Regions from separate parts of the Homo sapiens genome. Here region 1 is linked to region 2. The links are contacts of gene promoters, found by promoter capture Hi-C in blood cells and fetal thymus (Javierre and others, 2016). All regions are on one chromosome and are shown on one strand. The core of a region is centred on a gene start or on the middle of the fragment in contact, and the rest is flanking DNA. Distances in the headings are between cores, read along the strand shown.

The links. The method cuts DNA at HindIII sites, captures the fragments that hold promoters and counts their contacts. A CHiCAGO score of 5 or more calls a contact.
Region 1: a contact is called between the fragment with the promoter of ZNF529 here and the fragment with the promoter of ZFP30 in region 2, in 1 of 17 cell types (non-activated CD4 T cells). The highest score is 8.0, in non-activated CD4 T cells.

Annotation. Positions count from the first base shown.
Region 1 is chr19:36,570,330-36,575,458 of GRCh38, reverse strand. It overlaps ZNF529 (zinc finger protein 529), which reads left to right and starts at 2,167. Exons shown (of 5, transcript NM_020951.5): 1 at 2,167-2,319; 2 at 3,067-3,126. The coding sequence starts at 3,113. It overlaps ZNF529-AS1 (ZNF529 antisense RNA 1), which reads right to left and starts at 2,110. Exons shown (of 5, transcript NR_173348.1): 1 at 1,904-2,110; 2 at 559-638. RefSeq lists an enhancer at 2,021-2,110. The HindIII fragment of the contact is 11,229 bases long and covers 1-4,928 here.
Region 2 is chr19:37,652,604-37,657,890 of GRCh38, reverse strand. It overlaps ZFP30 (ZFP30 zinc finger protein), which reads left to right and starts at 2,426. Exons shown (of 6, transcript NM_001320669.3): 1 at 2,426-2,471; 2 at 3,012-3,179. RefSeq lists enhancers at 1,821-1,870, 1,270-2,257 and a silencer at 2,281-2,470. The HindIII fragment of the contact is 13,390 bases long and covers 1-5,158 here.

The DNA.
Region 1 (5,129 bases), core at 918-3,417, 1.1 Mb after region 2:
GAGGGGACCTCAAATCTATATAACTATTCAAAGTGGTAGGGATGAAAGTATTTTACTTCTGTGCTACATATGGAGTCCTCATTTCAACATATTGGATTTAGTTTGTATGATGTTTCCAGGTAATGCAACCCTGTCATCTAGAAATTATAATTTTACCTCCTAGTTTCCAATGCTTGTGATATTTTAGTTATTAGAAACTGTCATAATTCTGCAAGCAAAATGAAATACACCAGACACACAGAGTTCTTCAGTCATTAACATCACTTACATAGTGATCCATTTTCAGTTATCATGGAATGTACACACAAAACCATGATAAATAACAATTAGCACAGACACATTCAGTTTCCTGTGATCTTACCTACTCCACAAAGCCACAATCCTATGGATCCTACATGACATTCACAACCCTGTTGAGCCCATCTTATAATTCCATACAAACATAGCAAAGCAAACTCAGAAACTACTTACTCCAGTTACACAATCTCACACACACAAATCACAACTAATCATTCTAAAAGGCTTATCAGCTTCTTGGAAAGTTAAATGTAAACTTACCAATTACCCAGCAACTTTTCTTCTAAATATTTGCCCAGGAGAAATGGAAACGTGCCAGCTTTATTCGTAATGTATAAAACCTGTAAATATGCCAAATGTTCAACAACAGAAAAATGACTACACAAATTGTGGTATATTTGCACAATGGAGTGCTGTTCAGAAAAAGAAAAATGAACTACACATGAAATCTCACACACATTAGGGTAAACTAAAGGAGAAATATGGAATTCCGGAACTGACAGTTACAGTGACACAAATCAGAACTATGGCTGTCTCTGCTTTGAAACTGACTGGAAAGGACACCAGCAAACTCCGGTGGTGCTGGTGTTGTAAACCAAAAATAAAATCCTAAGCACACCCAGACCATCTTGAATGGACCCCTCCTCTTGGCCAGGGCATTCCTAACCTGAAAAACTAGTAAAGCCATGATGGAAAGGCGGGGGTGGGCGGGTCGGACATGCTTCATTATACCCTCCTCCATTTTGGAATTACTGATAGAAAAGACCCCAAGTCTGAAAAGAAACATTTACAATCTATTCTCTGTGAAGCGTGCTACCTGGAGACATTCCTAAGTCTTACGTCAATAACTCTTTCAACCCATTGCCAATCAAATAATCTTTGAATCTACCTATGACCTGGAAGGCCAGCCACCTTCCAGCTGTCCCGCCTTTCCGGAGGGAATCAATGTACATTTTACATGTATTTGATTGGTGTCTCATGTTTCCCTAAAAGGTATAAAACCACATATATCCCGTCCACCCTGGGCACAGGTTCTCAAGATCTCCTGAGGGCTGGGCCACCGGCCATTGGTCACTCATATTTAGCTCAGAATAAGTCTCTTCAAATACTTTAGAGTCTGAGTCTTTTCGTCAACAGTGTAAAACACGCCCTAAGGCAGACACACACACACTGAACCGCCGCTACCTGCCAGATTCCATCTGGGGCCTTTCTCATGGTGCAAAACGGACAAAAACTCCAAGTCACCCTCAGGTTTACGACCACGGGTCACATCCTGAGGCCCCCACACTTAGAAGCCAGAGTGGAGCAAAACCTCGCCCGACTCAGGCTCCGAGTTCTCCCCTCGACCCTCCCCAGCCTAAAGGCTGTACCCGCTTCAGGCCTTCCCAGCCCGGCCCTCCAGTTCCTTCTTCGGCCTCCCTCAGCCTGGGGTCCGGGTTTCCTCCTCGGCTGAGCAGCCGGGTCCGCGACTCCCTTCACCCTCCCCGGCCCGGGCTTCCGGTTCTTTCCAGAGGTGAGGCAGGGGCCACCTAGAATTCCGCGGCCCCCCACCTCCCCCAAGACCACCCTCGCCCCAGCTTCCTGTTCCCCATTCTGTCCTCCCAACCTGGGTTCCCGATTACTGCCTCGACTTCACCTTGCCGTCAGGGACCACCAGCCGCCTCTTCCGCGCCTAGGGGACGCGCAGCGGCAGCCTCTGCTGATGGCAAGGGTCTGCGCACCCGGAAACTCCAGGGTCTGGGGCGTGGTGCGGCCCCTGCGGCCAGCGGGCTCCGCTTGAGCTTCAGGGCTCTTTCGTTGTTGGACTACGTTTCCCACAGGCCTCAGGGCCGCGGATGAACTTCGACCTTTGCTTCCTTTTCCGGTGTTGTGGTTATTGAGTTAAGCCTGGCGAGTCGAGGTGACCCGGGCCGGGCTGCGGGAGGAGCTCGCGGTGAGGTGGCCCCGCGCTGCCGGGCGAGGTCGGTCCACGTGGAGCCGGGAGCCTGAGGCCTCTGTACGCGGGAGCTGCGGACGATGGTGGTTAGTGCTATTGTTTACGACGTCATTGTGGTGTGTGTGTGTGAGAGACGGAGACCCTAGTGTGTGCCGTGGGTGCTGTTTGATCGGACTCAGGACGGTGAGTAGGGGCGGGGTCTATCGTGTGACCCTGGTCTACGGTGACGTGATCGTGTGACAGCACTGTTGTGACCAACTATAAGTGTGAACGGGGTAGAAGTGTTTTTTTGTTTTTTTTTGTTTGTTTGTTTGTTCGTTTTTTTCCGTGAGCCTGTAGGAGTTTGTTTTGGGTAAAGCGTCATTTTTCCGACTCTGTGATGTCTGTGATGGAATCTCTTCGTGAGGTCTTATACACACACACACACGCATATAGATAGATTACATAGATGATATATAGAAGATAGATAAATGATAGATAATAGATAGATAGATAGATAGATAGATAAGATAGATAAATGAAGTTTCCTGGGAAGACGTGAAGGGGAGGGCATAGGTGTAGTATTCATTCCTGGGATAACTCCCCTTGCATGAGTTTGGAGGCCATTTATACATTAAAGAACTACAGTATTTCCTGAGCTGTGTTCCCTAGAAACTGCTAGGCATTGGTCGTACCTTTTTCTCGGATGTGGGGAGGAGTCGACAGTATTCTAGTTTCCCTCTTCGATCTGGGTGTGTTTGTTGTGTGTGATGGGCTTTTCTGGTGGTGAACACTGTGTTCTTATTTAACCAGTCCAGGATGTCATGAGTCCTTTCTCCCTCTTGGTTATGTAGTTCTGCAAGTGAAGGCCCCCTGAAGTGGAAGACAGCATTGGTACTAATGGCCAACTCAAGGTTAGTTTTTTTTTTTGTTCATTTACCTGGTCCCTTGGTTTTCTCTTCCCAATTAACAACAGGACCGTAGAGATGGGTCCCCTTGTCCTCCATTGCCTTTCCAAATGCCCATTTCCCTTTCATTGAATATTCACATATGCATTAGGTAAATCATTCAATTCTCCCATGTGCTTCTTTTTTTCCAAAGGATTTTTATGGTATAGAAATACAACTCCTGGAGGAGAAGTTAAAACTTTTTTTTAGAATGTAATTTGTTAAGGAGGAGACGAGTGATTAAGTAGAATGGCACACTAGATACCTTTGATCTTATTTACAGACTTGATTTGCAAACAAAGCAAGATAGGAGATGGTAGGTATTAATCAGTAAGTGACAAAGTTGGCTTTGGAGACATTTAGGAGTGGGAATATGATAGGAGTTTTATGCAGAGAGGCTATGTCAACAAGGGCAGGGAGTTTTTCCAGAACATTCATGAGGGGATTTAAGTGGTGACAACCAAATCTTCTTTGAGATTTGGCAGTGTGACATTGGTGTAGATTGTGAGAGGCAGCCTGATACAGTGGTGTCTGAGTCTAAAGCAGCACAGTCTAATGCAAATATAATATAAAGCCACTTAGGTAATTTAAAAATTTCCATTAGACACTTTTTTTTTTTTTTTTGAGACAGAGTTTCACTGTTATTGCCCAGGCTGGAGCGCAATGGTGCGATCTCAGTTCACTGCAACCTCTGCCTCCCAGGTTCAAGTGAGTCTCCTGCCTCAGCCTCCCAAGTAGCTGGGATTACAGGCGCCCGCCACCATGCCCGGCTAATTTTTGAATTTTTAGTAGAGAAGGGGTTTCATCATGTTGGCTGGGCTGGTATCGAACTCCTGACCTCAGGTGATCCACCCACCTCATCCTCCCAAAGTGCTGGGATTACAGGCGTGAGCCACTGCGCCCGGCTTTAAACACATTTTAAAAAGAAAAAGAAACAGCTGAAGTTAATTTTGGTAATGTATTTTATTTAAACCAATATATCCAAAATATTATTTCAACATGTAATGATATGAATACACTGAAATACTTTACACTCATATCTTTATACCAAGTTTTCAAAATCTGGTATATGTTTTATTGTTATTGCATGTCTCAATTTGGATGCTAAATTTTCAGTGTTTAGGGTGAATTATAGTCCTACCAAAACAATAAAGTTGTGTTTAATAGAAAAACATTTATATTGCTTTTGTATTTAAATGTAAGTTAATTAAAATTAAAGGTAATCCTGTGTTAATTAGCTTAGGAAAAGTGAAAAAAATTTAAAATTCAGTTATATGTTCACACTGCATTTCAAAGGGGTTAATAGTTACTCATTTTTCCGCTTTACAGTTTCTTGTTGTAGAATGTAAACAATAATTATATCAGTGCTTTAGGGTCTTTATGAGGCCTGGATACATTAATATGGACATAAACCTAGAGAATTTAATAAAGGCCTGGCACTTTAAGTCCTTATCTGCAAGGGAAGAAAAAAAGCTGGTTTGTGAAGATTCTTAGTATTCCCCATACATTTTCTGTAAATCAAGAGCAATGAAAATATAAAGTTAATTTTGATGGGCACTTGAAATGAATTTTTTAAAAGCCAGATTTGCAAATGTTCTATTAAGGCAATTTGACTGTCTTAGGTTCAATGATTTGCGAGAAGGACTCACAGAACTCAGAAAAGCTGTTATGCTCATAGTTATTCTTCATTACAATGAAAAGGTACACATTAAAATCAGCAAAGGGAAAAGTTGCATAGGGCAAATACCGGGAGAAACCAGGTGCAAGCTTCCAGTGCAGTTGCACAGGCAGCACCTAATTCTCCCAGCAACAATGTGCGAATACAAACATGAAGCGTGGCCAACCAGGGAAGCTCTCCTAAGCCATGGTTTCCAGGGTTTTTTGTTTTGCTTTGTTTTCTTTTTTCTTTTTTCTTTTCTTTTTTTTTTTTTTTTTTTTTGAGATAGGGTCTTGCTCTCTCACCCAGGCTG
Region 2 (5,287 bases), core at 1,177-3,676:
AGGATAGAGGACTGTCAAAAAAGAAAAAGAGGAAGAAAAATGTTCAGACCTATAAAGTGCTGCCCTATAACTAGCAGAAAAAAATGTTTAAACATACATGCCAAGTGCATAAATTATGAAATGTAAGTGCATTGTGGATTACAGGTGGCAATAGGTATCTGGGCGTTGGTGGGAGTGGGACATGAAATTAAAAAGGAACAGAAAACAATTGGTATTAGACTTGACAACATTAGCTACTAGAACACTGTGAAGTGACGCCTCCAAATTCTGAATCTAGGCAAAGTGTGAAGGCAGAATAAAGACATTTTCAGGCCCAGCGCGGTAGCTCACGCCTGTAATCCCAGCACTTTGGGAGGCCTAAGTGGGCGAATCACCCGAGGTCTGGAGTTCGAAATCAGCCTGGCCAACATGGTGAAACCCCATCTCTACTTAAACTATAAAAAAAAAAAAAAAAAAAAAAAAATGGCCAGGCGTGGTGGTGCACGTCTTTAATCCCAGCTACTCGGGAGGCTGAGGCAGAAGAATCGCTTGAACTGGGGAGGCAGAGGTTGTAGTGAGCTAAGATTGCACCACTGCACTCCAGCCTGGACAACAGAGTGAGACTCCGTCTCAAAAAAAAAAAAAATTTCAAACATGAAAGAACTAAAAAACATCTTTAATACATGCATCTTAAGGAACTTATTGGAAAAGAACTTTAGCAAAAATTAGCTGAATTCTAGGAAACAAGAATCAAACTTAGGAAAACAATGACGGTAAATTTTAGGACAACTGTACAGTCCAATTGCAGCCACAGAATGGAAGAGAGATTCTACTCCGATGTTTGAACCACTGAAAAAATAATCGATGAACATTTAACATATCTGTTGGAACATTTCTAAAAAATAGCAACAAGTACAAAGAAAACCAATAAATCCTTGATAAACAAACTCATGTAAGAAATGTACTTGGTTTTAAAGAGAAAATAATTGACGTAATTAGTACATATACTCCACATATTCACTTAACCAAAACTTGAGATATCTGGAAGAGATCAAGGAGAAAGAAGAAAGTTTTAAATATTTTAAATGAAGTATTACAATGAACATTTTTATTACTAAAGGTATTTTTAGCTACGAAAATGAGGCTGATCTTTCAACTAAAGATCAAAGAAACTTACTATCCAAGAATGCTTGGAGACATTGAATTTATCCAAGAGTTCATCCAGGAACAAAGGGGAAAAAACAAATCTCATTTGTTAGAATATTCCAAGACCAGGTATGGAAGAAAATAAAATGCCTCTCCCTCCCGTTTCATGGTGTCCTATTCAATTTTCTGACACAGTCCTACAATTCCATCATTTGGAAGTAATAGCAACCTTATTCCTTTCCAATTTTTTTTCCTGCAATTATTTTACTTGCCTAACACCACAGTCCTGAGGGCACACAAGGGCCAGATGCAGATAATCAAAATCCCAACACTCAGTTTCATAGGGACCCACAAACCGTCTCCATGGAAAACCAGAACCAGAAGCGCTGCCCTATCAGAAGGATTCTGGAAATAACGCTGGATGAGGCAGAGCCACAGTCACAGATCCGATGTCAGGTACGTCACAAACGCAGACACAAACCGCAAAGACCCCAGAGACCCGCTACAGCCAGCGTCAGAGTCAGGCACCACCGCGCAGCCTTCTCTGCGGCACCATCCTAATCCCCCGCTAGAGAACGGCACACGCGCACGCAGCAGCCCCGTGCACGGAAACACTACTCCGCCAGCGGCCAGGCACTCGGTCCAGGTACGCGGGGGCGCGGCGGCCGTCACTCAGCAAACACCACAGGCAGCACGCGCCGCGCCTTGGTCCAGGCTCGCGATACTGGGGTTTCCTCCATCCAACTCACGCCAGGGTCACGGCTACAGGCCTAGATTTGAACACTCCATCCCCATCGGGATCCTGTAGCCAACCTCCACCCTCCTCCAAACCTCCCGACCCCTCGGCAGGTGCGGCCCCACACTTCTCCCTTGCTCCCTGAAGGGCCCCAGCGTTCGCCCCCCGCGCGCTTGCGCACTCGAGGCAGAAGCCGATTTCCAAAGGTTCCGGTGAGGCGTCGCTGGGGGCGGGGCGGGGCTCGCAGCCTCCGCCTGTCTCCGAGCCGAGAACCAAATGAAAAATAAAAAGGCGGAATATTGTTTTTTTAAATTTTGGACCGCAGTGTCCACAGGGGAGCAGGCCTGGATTATCTTTAATGGCACTGGTCAGTCACGGGGCGGCCATTACAGGTAGAGGCCTGAGGCGAGGGACACTGCGGCCCCTCTGGCTCCGTCTCCCCGGCCCGACTATCCCCGCCGAGACCCGGCCCCACGCGCCCCTCCCGGCCCGGAGCAGCTGCGGGACTTGCCTCCGCCCCCCCGCGCGCTAGCGCATTCGCGACGGAGACAGGCGCTCTCCCGTATTCTGGCGCCGCTGACTCCCAGGGCTGGGCTATCCTCTGAGTCGGGTGAGGCTGGGGCTGGGAGCCGGGCGCCACTGTGGCCGCTGCTTTTCTGAGGGAAAAGAGCGCGGAGTGGGCCAGGTTTTGCAGGCCGGGCCAAGGTGGAGAAAAGGTTCCTGTGGAGCCTCAGGCCGGTGTGCTTTTTTTCCCGGGACTGAGCTTCTGCAGCCCTGAGGCCTGGAGGCCCGGGCGGTAGTAACTGTGCCGGACCAGGTTCGTGGGTGCGGCCTGTGGTGCAGTTGGAGACCGAGGCCCCGCGCATCCTCGTCCGCGCTTCAGCCACTTAGGCTCGGCCGTAGCGAAAAGGCCCAAGAGGGAAGTCAGAGGTGAACGCCCCAGGATGAAGGTCCCCTGCAAAACGCTGGGACCTAGATTTGGGGTGGGTGTCTGGGGTCTAGGAGGACACGCTGGACAGTTCCGAAAAGACACAGTGGGTGGTCCCGGGCGTGGGCAACCGGGTGCGGAACTACAGCGTACCCGGAGCTGCGAACCCAGACGCGGGTGACTGCTGACCCTCTGCCCTGTCGTTTCCATTTGTGCATGCAGGTGGCGGTTAGTTGGGGCCAGGGAAGCGTGGAGGGTGGGTTCCAATCGAGTCAAGAAAAGCCTGGGGTGTCCTGAACTCTGCCTGCTTCCCCAGCCCTGCCAGTTTCCAGAGAAGGCGCTTGAGAAGGAGAAACGAATCGCTGCTGCTCTTCTAAAAGCCGGTTCCCTGTGAGTTCGTGCTGCTGCTTTGTTTCTGTGAAATGCATTCGAGTTCCTTCCGTTTAAAATCCTGCTTAGGAATGATCTATTTATTCATTGATTTGGGCCTTAGGATTTCCCTACCTAGTTAACGGCAGGGGACCTAATTAATAGATTTCCCGTTGTTAGTGCCCACTTCATGCTGTTCTATAGTTAGACACATGGTTAGTTAACTGTAGGCTGCAAATTCAATTACTCTGTGAGCGCTGTTTTTCTAAGGATCTTGATGATATGGAAATACCCGTGCTGGAGATTAATGTTCATACTTTGTTTTTATTTGTTTTTTAGGGTTTAGATATGTTTAATGGTTCTGGGGTAGGAGTGGAGATTTCTTTTTTTCCAGGAAATTCATGAGTGGAAGTTTTTGGTACCAGCCAGATGTGGTTTGAGGTCTGGCAGCATGAGTTTATTTTGGGTATATCTTGGATCGACTGAGGGAGGTGTAGTGTAGTGGTTAAGAATTTCGAGCCTAGATTAAGTGGAATTGAATCCTGACTGCCACTTAAATCTGAACGAGTTTAAGCAATCTGTGCTTCAATTTCCTCAGAATTGTAATAGTGTATACTTTACGGTGTTGTTTTGAAGATTACATGAATTAATATTTGTGAAGCTCTTAGGAGAGTGCCTGGCACATAGTGAGTCCTTAATTCATACTAGCTACTGGTATTAAAATGATGATGCTCAGTCATTTCCTATCAGCTTTGTGTATTTCCAAGACCAATGCAAATGTGAAGGTAATTATGATGGATGCTTGCAAGCAGGAAAATGAGCCAGACCCTGCAGTGGACCAGAACAGGGATTGGTAACATAAGTCCTTGGACTCTGTTTATGAGCTTTCAGGGCAACAAAGATATTTTAAGATTATATACAGAATTGTTGTATGTATTTGTAAATGGTTAATTTTTTCAGTGGAGCGAGGAAGTCTATCATTTCATGGTATTATCAGAGTTGTATAAGCTCCAACAACATTGATTCTCACTGTCTAGAAATGAAATAACTGGTAATGACTTTCGGGATGTTCTTTTATAAAATTAATATCTAGCAGTATGGAAATGGTTAAATCACACTCCATGTGATGGAATGTTATGCAATAATAAGAATTTTGTTTATATTTAGTCATAAGAAAAAAGTATAATGTAATATTGAGAAGTATTGTTGTAAATAAGAATCATCAAGAAATTGTTACATATGAATCTTGTATACTACAATAAAGGTTTTTAAGTTATTTTGCAACAATGTAATATTTAAATATTAAATTGCTAGGTATTTAATGATTAGTTATTTATTGGAGCTGAGGAGGGGTAAATGCAAGTTATTAAGTAGCTGCTGTGAAATGAGCATTTGTTTTTGTCTGCAGTTCTTACTGGCTCTTAATCACTTTGGAAATGACATGAACCAGGATTGTAATCCTTCACAGAACTATTTCAGGGTCTTGATGAGATACAATACTCAGGAACTGGTAGAAATTATTTTTTCAGTCACACTGATTTCCCTGTTGTCACCATTTATGCAGGGCCTGTTTAATCACAATTTTCTTTTTTCTTTCTTTTTTTTTTTTTTTTTGAGACGGAGTTTTCGATTTTGTTGCCCGGGTTGGAGTGCAATGCCGAAATCTCAGTTCACTGCAACCGCTGCCTCCCGGGTTCAAGCGATTCTCCTGCCTCAGCCTCCCAAGTAGCTGGGATTACAGGTGCCCGCCACCATGCCAGGCTAATTTTTTGTATTTAGTAGAGACGGGGTTTCACCATGTTGGTCAGGCTGGTCTTGAACTCCTAACCTCAAGTGATCCACCTGCCTCGGCCTCCCAAAGTGTTGGGATTACAGGCGTGAGCCACCGCACCTGGCCCACAATTTTCTTAATGACTGTAAGGTAGCCTATCTTCCCAGTCATTTAAAATTTTTTGGAATAGCTTTTTAAAATATTTCTGATGACAGAATTAATACAAGCTTGTGAAATATTAGTAACTACGGAACCTATAAAGAAAATTAAAATGATCAATGGTCCCAATGTCCAGAAATAATAATTATTAATGTTTTAGAGCATATTTTCCCAAAATATTTCTACAAGTCTGTGTGGT